Regions from separate parts of the Homo sapiens genome. Here regions 2, 3 and 4 are each linked to region 1. Evidence: promoter capture Hi-C in 16 types of primary human blood cells and fetal thymus (Javierre and others, 2016). All regions are on one chromosome and are shown on one strand. The core of a region is centred on a gene start or on the middle of the fragment in contact, and the rest is flanking DNA. Distances in the headings are between cores, read along the strand shown.

Region 1 (2,700 bases), core at 115-2,614:
TATAGACAGTGACTGTGAAAGAACGAATACTCAAGTTTCCTTTCCCAATAAAATTCATGAGGACAAGACTGTGTGTCTGGCTGATTGCTCCCAACTGGTTCACCCAACAAAGAATCGGAGTGTGTAATACATCCTCAATTAAGTGTTTTCCATTACAAAACAATATAAATGTCAATCCATAAACGCTGGAAACACACAAATCCTAAAGTTAAATTTTGCGCCGGTCTTGTATCAATTCCCAATTATAAAAATCCTGAGAAACAGGCAAAATCACCTTGTACGGCAACACGTTATATGAAAATAGTATTTGTAAAACACTTAATCCTTTCTGGCATTAAGACATTTAAAGTGAAATCTGTTTCCAGGCTTACAGATTTACAGAAGCCTATCTACACAGAGTGAGTAAGGTAATTAAAGCGGACATACAGTATATACTCAAAAAATTTATTTACACAGTGCAGGCTATGTTAAACGCTAATAAAATGCAAGTGACAACTTGCCTTTGTGGGAACCAGACACAAAGATTCACATTTTGAGGAAGTTCAAGTTTACCGGCCAACAGCCACACCACGATTTGCTGCCGTCATAGACGGGCCCTAAGGAGAAGTACTGCTTCCAGCAAGTCAAATACTTGGATTTTATCAATGGCGAGACAAAAGAGGCAAGGTGCGCCCAATGCACAAATGCTAAAGTAAACAATCAGTCTCCTTTGCGACCGTCAGGATTAGAAGACAGCCTGAGTCCTTCCAGGAAATTCATGTAAGCAGGTCCCCAGAACTCGCTGACAAACACTGCAGCCGAAGGCGGGTATGAGGCCAAGAAAGGCCAAGGAATCACTGCGACCCCTCCAGGAGGGCGTGGGGACGGCCGAGCACAACTAGGCACAAAGGTAGAAACGCAACATCTGGGCGGGTCCCGGCGCCACCTCCGAGTCTCAGGGCCTCCACGCGCCCCGGGGGCCAGACGCTCAGACCTAGGACTACCGGTCCCCTCGTGGTAGGCAGGTGACCGATTCCACTTAAAGGAGGCCGCAGGCCTTCATGGACCCCAAAGCCTACATGCCAAGTCAACCCCACAGAGAGGCCGCCCCGTCTCTCAGCAACGGCCGCAGCCAAGAGCCGCCGCCCACCCCGGCCCGGATCAGCCTGCCCGCGGCCTTCCTCCTGCTGTCCCCTATCCCGCAGGCCAAATCGGGCTGGTCTTAATCCCGAACGGTCTGTGGGGCCCCTTCTCCACTCGCTGGAGTGCGGGGCGGTGGGAGAGAGCAGGGGCTACAAGGAGGGTCGACCCAGGTGCCACTGCCCCCTCAGCACTCACCATGGCGACTCCCCAGAGCCTGCAGCAAGCAGCACCCGCCCCGCGCGTAGCCTCCCGCGGTCATGTGACGCTGCGGCCCCTCCAAGCCCCGCCCTCTCTAGCCCCGCCCCCGGGCCCTACAGGCGGCTCATTGATTGGCCTACTTCTAGGAACCCGAGTCTCGCGTGCTTATTGGCCCTGTCACTTAACGCTAGATGGACGGACCTGAGCGCCAGCCAATCTCACCACAGCGTGCGAGAGTGGGCGGAGCAGTGCAGGGCAGTGGGGATCGCCCGGCGGCAGGCAGGAGACAACAGGAGGGAAAGGCAGTGTGTGATGAGTTTGTCAAGAAGGAATGGAAGGAGGGGGAGCCGACAAGTCCACGTTCACCGCATCTGCGTTGGCGATTGCGCTATTGATGCGCATGCGCAAAAGGAAGACCCTGATTGGTTTGTGGGACGGTCTCAACGTCCTGTCCTAACCAATCCAGATGCGCCGGGGGTGGGGCCTGGCTCTCACTGGCCGGTGCAGCCTTTGCGCGCGGGTTTCGTTGACCCGCGGCGTTCACGGGAATTGTTCGCTTTAGTGCCGGCGCCATGGGGTCGGAGCTGATCGGGCGCCTAGCCCCGCGCCTGGGCCTCGCCGAGCCCGACATGCTGAGGTGAGTTCGGCCGCGCAAGACCAGGGCTGGGCTTCCGCCTCGCGGCCCTGGGCCCTCAGGTGAGGCCCGCGCCCTTCCCAGGCGACGGGCGGCGGGGGAGTGACGGGGAGCGCTGGGGCCGGGCGGGGTTTAGGGCCTACTTCAAGAAAAACTTCTCGGCCGTGAGCTTGAATGAGATGGCAAGAAGGGCGATAGCAAACGGCGATGGCACACGTCCCTGGGAACAGCCAGCCCTGTCCGTGGGTAGAAAAATGAGCCAGGGAGAACTTTCCGTTCATTCCGCCAACGCCTACTGCAGTCGGGTTTATAGCGGGGAACCCGACAACGAGGCGCAGACCCCGCTGTCTGTAAGGGCGAGGACTGTGTAGACCTTAACCGGGCAATGCTCCTGAGCCACTGGGCTTGGGGTGGAGCGCGGCCTAGCGGCTGCCTTTAACACAAAGAAACAAACAAAACTCGGAAAAGCAGGCGCCGTTCCCGCTGAGGCCGGATTGATGGCAGATGCTAGGCGAGGAAAGATATGGCAAGAGCAGCCCAGGCAGGGGCGACAGCTCCTGTAAAAGCGTTGAGATGGGAAGCGGGATCCGGGGTTCGAAATAAAGCCATTGTAGCTAAAACGTGGAGCAGTCAGGCGAGGGAAGGCAAGGAAAACAGCACTTAAAAGATTTGAAGACAAACCTGCAGGACTCGGTAGTCATTTAGAACAGTGGTTCTCAAAATGTGGTTCCTGGACCAGCAACAGC
Region 2 (2,700 bases), core at 198-2,697, 250 kb after region 1:
CACTATAATAGCAAAAATCGTGTTCTTAAATTGAACCTACTGGCCATACGCAGTGGCTCATGCCTGTAATCTCAATGCTTTGGGTGACTGAGGTGGGAGGATCACTCGAGGCCAGGAGTTTGAGACAAGACTGGGCAACATAGTGAGACCAAGTCTCTACAAAAATAAAATAATTAGCCGGGCATGGTGGTGCATACTTGTAGTCCTAGCTACCCGAGACTACTTCCTGAGGCAGGAAGATGGTTTGAGCCCAAGAGTTGAAGTCTGCAGTAAGCTATGATCACACCACTGTACTCTAGCCTGGGTAACAGAGCAAGACCACATCTTTAAACCAAATGAAAAAAGAAACCCAAAAATAAATTAATTGGGCCTACCTAATGAAGACTGGTGCCATGGACATTTGTTTTTGGTGCAGATCTATATTGACATGTTGGCTCCAGTTAGGAACTAGGACCATTTGGACTCCTTGGCATTTACACAAGGTAAAGTCCTCCCCCAAAAGACCTTTGTGGGGCTTTGTCCTTTTATGGTTAAGTTAAGCTGCTGTTTGCCATTTCTAAACTAAAGCTTTAAAGCAAAATGCCCCCAGTCTTTCGGGCCAGCATCATGAAATACATTGGGTGTCAAAACCCCACTCATTCAAGGAAATATGGTATATAAGTGTGAGCGGCTGGGCACGTGAACCACTGCACCTGGCTGCCTGGAGTTTAATTTAATGGCCTTATCTTTGTTACCTACCAGGGCATCTGAATGAGTGTTGGCATATTTATAGATATGCTAAAGCCTCATGTTATTCATTCATCAAACACTGGCTTAGCAGCTGTGCACCAGGCACAGGGTTAAGTGATGGGGACACAGCAGTGACTAAGACCTGATCCCATGATTTATAAGGTTGATAATACCCCATGCTGGTAAGAGAGGGGAAGCCAACACTGATACACTGTTAGCAGTGGTGTGACTTTATACAACTTTTTTTTTTTTTTTTTGAGACAGTTTCACTCTTGTTGGCCAGGCTGGAGTGTGATGGCTCAGTCTTGGCTCACTGCAACCTCCACCTCCCAGGTACTGCAGCCTCCACCTCCCAGGTTCAAGCGGTTCTCCTGCCTCATCCTCCCAAGTAGCTGGGATTACAGGTGCCCACCACCACACCTGGCTAATTTACGGGGTTTCATCATGTTGGCAAGGCTGGTCACGAACTCCTGACCTCAGGTGATCCACACACCTTGGCCTCCCAAAGTGCTGGGATTACAGATGTGAGCCACCATGCCCGGCCAAATTTATACAACTTTTTGAGAGAGCATTTTGGTATCATCAGCATTCAATATACATATGCCTGTTCTAGGCCAGGTGCGGTGGCTCATTGCTGTAATTCCAGCACTTTGGGAGGCCAAGGTGAGTTGATCACCTGAGGTCAGAAGTTTGAGACCAGTCTGGACAACATGGCAAAAGTCTGTCTCTACTAAAAGTACGAAAATTAGCCAGGCGTGGTGGTGGGTGCTTGTAATCTCAGCTACTTGGGAGGCTGAGGCGCGAGAATCACTTGAACCTAGGGGCGGAGGTTGCAGTGAGCTGAGATCATGCCACTGCACTCCAGCCTGGGTGACACAGCAAGACTGTGTCTCAAAAACAAAAACAAACAAACAAACAAAAAAACATATGCCTGTTCTAAAACTATAGTAATCATCAGCCAGGCTTGGTGGGTCATGCCTGTAACCCCAGCACTTTGGAACGCCAAGGCTGGTGAATCCTTTGAGCCCAGGAGTTTGAGACCAGCCTGGGCAACATAGCGAAACCCCCGTCTCTACAAAAGACAGAAAAATTAGCCAGGTGTGGTAGCATGCGCCTGTAGCCCCAGCTACTTGGGAGACTGAGGTGAGAGGATCACTTTAGTCTGGGAGGCAGAGGCTGCAATGAGCTGAGATTGTGCTACAGCACTCCAGCCTGGGCGACAGAGTGAGACCCTGTCTCAAAAATAAAATAAATAAAACCATAGTAATCAAGACAGTCTGGTACTGCTGAAAGGGCAGACAAATAATGGAACAGAATAGAGTCCAGAAATAGACTCCCATGCATTTATCACTTTGGCATAAAATAGACCACATACATGTGTTGCATGCAATCACACACACGCATATATCTTTCACACACTTATGTTGACGAGTATGCCAAAGTAAACACAATGGAGAAGGAAAGTCTCTTCAATAAATGGCGCTAAAACACTTGGATGCTAAAGCATCCATATGGGGAAAAAATAAGCCTCAATGCCTACCTCTATATATGCTATATTTTAGATGGATTGCAGACCTAAAATTTAAGAGCTAAAATTGTAAAGCTTCTAGAGGAAAACCTAAGAGAATATCTTTGCAACTTTGAGATCCACAAATATTTCTTTCTTTTTTTTTTTTTTGAGACAGAATCACTCTGTCGCCCAGGCTGGAATGCAGTGGCACCATCTCAGCTCACTGCAACTTCTGCTGCCTGGGTTCAAGTGATTCTTCTGTTTCAGCCTCCCAAGTAGCTGGGATTACAGGTGTGAGCCACCATGTCTGGTTAATTTTTATATTTTTAGTAGAGATGGGGTTTCACCATGTTGGCCAGGCTGGTCTTGAACTCCTGACCTCGAGAGACCCACCTGCCTTGGCCTCCCAAAGTGCTGGGATTATAGGCGTGAGCCACCATGCCCAGCCAGAGACATGGAAA
Region 3 (2,700 bases), core at 64-2,563, 140 kb after region 1:
GATACTCATATTCTTCTACTGCTTAACAAAACCATGAAGACTATACCATACCAATACCATAAAAAATAAATATGTATTAAATATGCACTGATGTGAGTGACCAATAGAAAACTGTAATAGGGTCAGAGCAAGGGGAAGTATGTGGAAAAAAAGGTAGCATTTCCTAAAATGTTAGTTTGACAGCTTTTTACGGTATAGAACAAATTTGAAAAGGGTGAGTGGGTAGGAAGTCATTAAAGTAATCCTGGTAAAAGATTATGAAGGACCAAGTGGAATAGTGAGAACGGAAATGGAAAAAGGTAGATCTGCCAGAGTTTCCAAGGCAAGAAAAACAGACAAAGGCCCAAACTGATGACTGGTGATAAAGTGGGAAGAAGTGAAAATAACTCAGGATTCTAACATGAGAGGAGAAGATATCAACTACCACTGACAAAGAATAAAGAATAGTTTATAGCAACCAGATTTTTCTTAAATTCTTAAATTGTTGTGGGTAGATAGTAGGTGTACATGTTTATGGGGTACACTAATATAGACATGCAATGCGTAACAATCACATCATGGAAAATTGGGTATTCAACCCCTCAAGCATTCTTCCTTTTTGTTACAAACAATCTATACTCTTTTAGTTATTTTTAAATGTACAATTAAATTATTATTGACTATAGGACTGGGCGCAGTGGCTCACACCTGTAATCCCAGCACTTTGGGAGGCCGAAGCAGGTGGATCACTTGAGGTCAGGAGTTTGAGACCAGCCTGACCAACATGGTGAAACCCCGTCCCTACTAAAAAAAATACAAAATTAGCCAGGCGTCATGGCACATGCCTGTAATCCCAGCTACTTGGGTGGCTGAGGCAGGAGAATCGCTTGAACCTGGAAGGCAGAGGTTGCAGTGAGCCAAGAGTGCACTATTGCACTCTAGCCTGGGCAACATGAGCAAGACTCTGTCTCAAAAAAAAAAAAAAAAAAAATTATTATTAACTATAGTCCCCCTGTTGTGCTATCAAATATTAGGTCTTATTCTTTCTAACAACAACCAGTTTGAGGGGCAAAAGTATGCTGACATAAAAAAAGAGAATGTAGGAGAAGGTAGGAATTTAGATCCAGAATCTTATATCTTAGTTCCAGGAATGACTCCGGACAAGATATTTAAGATCTTCAAGCTTCTGTTTCCAAATCTGCAAAATACGTAAATTTCCTTTCTCTACTCCAAACTTATAACTGTTTTTTAAGCCAAGTGCTACTGAAAATCATTGAAAAAATTTTTTAGTTTTCCCCATAATCATTTCACCCATATCAAAGTTAATGATCCTTGGAATCAAGACATGTTCACCAAAAGTCTGAAACTAATCTCAACGAAAAAGTATTTACAGAATAATTACAGTAAGAAAACTGCAATTCCCTTTGTAAGATAAATTCCCCCATTTGGCAGTTGTTCTGCTATGTAAAAACTGAGTTAAAATTATGAAGCTTTTTATCTATGTATGTACAGAATGCCTCATGTTATAGAATCTAAACACTTGATCTAATTGAGCTAAATTGAAATTTTGGCAGAATAATTCCTTTTCTTTGTATAAAAACATTGAACAAAGGATCTCCAATTTGTATTTAAGAAAAATAACAAAGAAATCAATAAAAATAATCAAACTCCAGATTTGTCTAACAGCTTGCTTTGTTAAGAATGTAATGAGATCCCTTCAAATCACGACAAAAAAAATGCTACATTTTTTAAATAGTGTAAAATCTGTCTAAAATAGATGTCTGACATTTTTTCAAATTTCGTATCTTCATAGAAACCAAGCTCAAAGGCACTGACTCATTTCCTTTACACCTAAACATATTATTAAGGGCATCCACAGTAATGTAAATTGTTTTAAATTAATGCTATCCAAAATACGCAAATGCATGTTCTTACTCAACAGCTCCTTTCCTAATCAGCAAGCATTTTCTTCCAGCTACTGAAACTCAATAAATTTGAATTTGGGTTTCAGTCTTATACAAAAGAACTTCATATCAATCCATCTCCAGAATTAACAGTGTTGCAGTTAGATGAGAAGTATACATTTGGCTTTGGGACCCAGAATGCACAAACACTGACTAACTGAATTAACAGGTTGATTTTCATCCACAAATGAAAGTGTTTTATGCTCAATAAACCCTCATGTGCCTGAGTTAATTCATTCTATAGTTTGAGTTAATTCATTCTATAGTCTGAGTTAATTCATTCTATAGTCCTATTTAAAATAAAAAGTTCCTTCCCCACAACCTCTGCCCTGGAAAACAAAAAACAAAAAACACACCACCACCACCATCACCACCCTAGATCCTGTAAAAAGAATTATCAAATAGGTTGGACAACTTCAGTAATATTAACCTCATTTCATTAATTATAGTATAATTTAGATTTTAAACAAACACACTAAAGTTTCTTTAAATTTCAGTTGATAATACTAAACCTAACAGTACTGAAATTCTAATATTACACTTTCAGGATTTTAAAAAAAAGAAAATATTCAAAGTATTGTTTACTGATAGTTTACTGGGCATTAATTCACTTTTTTAAAAAAAGATTTAGGTTGTTTGTATGTTTTACAAGTAAAACAGATTTTTTATTTATTTATTTATCTTTTTTTTTTGAGACGAAGTCTCACTCTTGTCCCCCAGGCTGGAGTGCAATGGCGCGATCTTGGCTCACTGCAAC
Region 4 (2,700 bases), core at 10-2,509, 190 kb after region 1:
TAGTATCATAAGTTTATCTTTAATCCACTTTGAACGTCATGGTGAGAGCATTGGGATACATGTGTCCCGGCTATTAGCTCACCTAAACTAATATTTGCTTGTTAGAGGCAATGATTTGCTTCAAGGAGACTCAGAGCAAGTAGGATCTCAACGAAATTTCCCTGACCATCCCCTAAAAACTTGAGCCTGACTTAAATTAAAAAAAAAAAAAAAGAAGGCCGGGCACAGTGGCTCACACCTGTAATCCCAGCACTTTGGGAGGCAAAGGCGGGCGGATCCCTTGAGTCCAGGAGTTCAAGACCAGCCTGGGCAACATGGCAAAAACTTGTCTCTATGTAAAAACAAACAAACAAAAAAAAATGAGGCCTTCATTTAGAAAGAAAAACATGGGCCAGGCGTGGTGGCTCATGCCTGTCATCCCAGCACTTTGGGAGGCTGAGGCGGGCAGATCATGAGGTCAGGAGATCAAGACCATCCTGGCTAACACGATGAAACCCCATCTCTACTAAAAATACAAAAAATTAGCTGGGTGTGTTGGCGGCACCTGTAGTCCCAGCTACTTGGGAGGCTAAGGCAGGAGAATGGCGTGAACCGGGGAGGCGGAGCTTGCAGTAAGCCAAGATTGGGCCACTGCACTCCAGCCTGGGCGACAGAGCGAGACTCCATCTCAAAAAAAAGAAAAACACGAAGGACAAGGATTAAAGCTAACTAAAATGTAGGAGTTGGAGGGAGATTCCAAGCAAATACCCAAATACCTTCTAACACCCCCAGAAACTGCTCAGTCGCCATCTCTGAAAAAGGCCACAAACACTCTAAGATTTACACTCTTTCTCTTTTTAAATTATCTTCCATCACACAGGAAATCCTTATTCATATTATAATATGGTAAGATGTACATAAAATTTTCTATTTTAACTATTTGGGGGTGTACAGTTCAGTGACATTATATACATCCACATTATGCAACCATAACCACTGTTCATCTCCAGAACGTTTTCATGTTGCAAACTGAAACTATGTACTCATTAAACAGTAACTCCCAGCAGGGTGCGGTGGCTCATGCCTGTGATACCAGCACTTTGGGAGGCTGAGGCAGGCGGATCACAAGTTCAGGAGATGGAGACCATCCTGGCTAACATGGTGAAACCCCGTCTCCACTAAAAATACAAAAAATTACCCAGGCATGGTGGCATGCACCTGTAGTCCCATTTACTTCGGACGGAGGAGAATCACTTGAACCCAGGAGGCGGAGGTTGCAGTGAGCCCAGATTGTGCCACTGCACTCCAGCCTGGGCGACAGAGCGAGACTCTGTCTCAAAAAAAAAAACAAAAAAACAAAAAAAAAACACAAGAAACAGTAACTCCCCATTCCGCCTCCCCCCAGCCCTTGGTAACCTCTATTTTAATTTATTATTTATTTACTTTATTTTTGGTAGAGATAGGTTCTTACTATTTTGCCCAGGCTGATATCAAACTCCTGGGCTCAAGGGATCTGTCTGCTGTGGCCTCCCTAAGTGCTGGGATTACAGGTGTGAGTCACCACACCTGGCTGGTAACCTATATTTAAATTTCTGTCTCTATGTATTTGCCTATTCTGGGTACCTCAAATAAGTGGAATCATACATACTTATCCTTTTATATCTGGTGTATTTCACTTTACATAATGTCTTTAAGTTTCATCTGTGTTGTGGTATGTGTCACAATTTCCTTCCTTTTTAAGGCTGATTAATATTTCTTTTTTTTTTTTTTTTTTGAGACAGAGTCTTGCTCTGTCGCCCAGGCTGGAGTGCAGTGGCACAATCTTGGCTCACTGCAACCTCCACCTCCCGAGTTCAAGCAATTCTCCTGCCTCAGCCTCCCGAGTAGCTGGGATTACAGGCATGCGCTACCATGCCTGGCTAATTTTTGTATTTTTAGTAGAGACGAGGTTTCACCATGTTGGCCAGGCTGGTCTTGAACTTCTGACCTCGTGATCCGCCTGCCTCAGCCTCCCAAAGTACTGGTATTACAGGTGTGAGCCACCACATCAGGCCTGACTAATATTTCTTGTGTATATATACCACATTTTGTTCACCCATTCATCTGTCAATGGACATTTGGGTTGTTTCCACCTTTTAGCAGTTGCCATAATGCCATAATGAGCATTAGTTTATAATTATCTGTTCAAGTCTCAGCTTTCAATTCTTTCGTGATATACCCAGAAATGGAATTGCTAGATCATATGACCATTCTAGGTTTCTTTTTTAAAATTTATTTATTATTTTAAAAATTTCTTAAAACGTTGAAAGTACATTAAACAAAAAGAAAAATTAGTTACCAATAATCCCACCACTCAAAGATAACCACCATTAACAACAGTCAGGCATGGTGTCATGCAGCTGTAGACCCAGCTACTTGGGAGGCTGAGGAGGGTTAATGGCTTGAGTCCAGGAGTTTGAGGATCTAGTAAGATGATCATGCCACTGCACTTTAGCCTGGATGATAGAGGGAGACCCCATCTCAAAACACACACACAAACACACACACACAACAATAGAGTGTTGATGCTTTCAGACTTCCTAATCTACCCAAACATCCATAAGAAAAATAAAAAGTTAAAATATCATCTCTAATTTTCTCAGCAACACTTTGAGGCAGGTACTGTGGTCACTCTCACTGGCAGGTGAGGAAACAGAGGCTCAATGAATACAGGCAGGGGCT

What was found. The method cuts DNA at HindIII sites, captures the fragments that hold promoters and counts their contacts. A CHiCAGO score of 5 or more calls a contact.
Region 2: a contact is called between a fragment that was not itself captured here and the fragment with the promoter of VPS35 in region 1, in 1 of 17 cell types (naive CD4 T cells). The highest score is 5.2, in naive CD4 T cells.
Region 3: a fragment that was not itself captured here is called in contact with the fragment with the promoter of VPS35 in region 1 in 16 of 17 cell types (megakaryocytes, erythroblasts, fetal thymus and 13 more); the score reaches 15.6 in megakaryocytes.
Region 4: a fragment that was not itself captured here is called in contact with the fragment with the promoter of VPS35 in region 1 in 3 of 17 cell types (naive CD4 T cells, naive B cells and naive CD8 T cells); the score reaches 6.5 in naive CD4 T cells.

What each region holds. Positions count from the first base shown.
Region 1 is chr16:46,687,814-46,690,513 of GRCh38, forward strand. It overlaps VPS35 (VPS35 retromer complex component), which reads right to left and starts at 1,365. Exons shown (of 17, transcript NM_018206.6): 1 at 1,318-1,365. The coding sequence starts at 1,320. ORC6 (origin recognition complex subunit 6) reads left to right here and starts at 1,846. Exons shown (of 7, transcript NM_014321.4): 1 at 1,846-1,957. The coding sequence starts at 1,893. RefSeq lists enhancers at 836-1,533, 1,534-2,232, 2,470-2,549, 2,600-2,669 and silencers at 1,070-1,119, 1,270-1,509, 1,830-2,129. The HindIII fragment of the contact is 9,040 bases long and covers 1-2,700 here.
Region 2 is chr16:46,938,354-46,941,053 of GRCh38, forward strand. No RefSeq gene overlaps it. Among named protein-coding and RNA genes, the nearest start is that of DNAJA2, 34 kb to the right of the region's middle. The HindIII fragment of the contact is 1,765 bases long and covers 566-2,330 here.
Region 3 is chr16:46,824,965-46,827,664 of GRCh38, forward strand. All of the region lies in intron 1 of C16orf87 (chromosome 16 open reading frame 87), which reads right to left. Among named protein-coding and RNA genes, the nearest start is that of C16orf87, 4.9 kb to the right of the region's middle. The HindIII fragment of the contact is 307 bases long and covers 1,161-1,467 here.
Region 4 is chr16:46,876,813-46,879,512 of GRCh38, forward strand. No RefSeq gene overlaps it. Among named protein-coding and RNA genes, the nearest start is that of GPT2, 6.2 kb to the right of the region's middle. The HindIII fragment of the contact is 2,979 bases long and covers 1-2,700 here.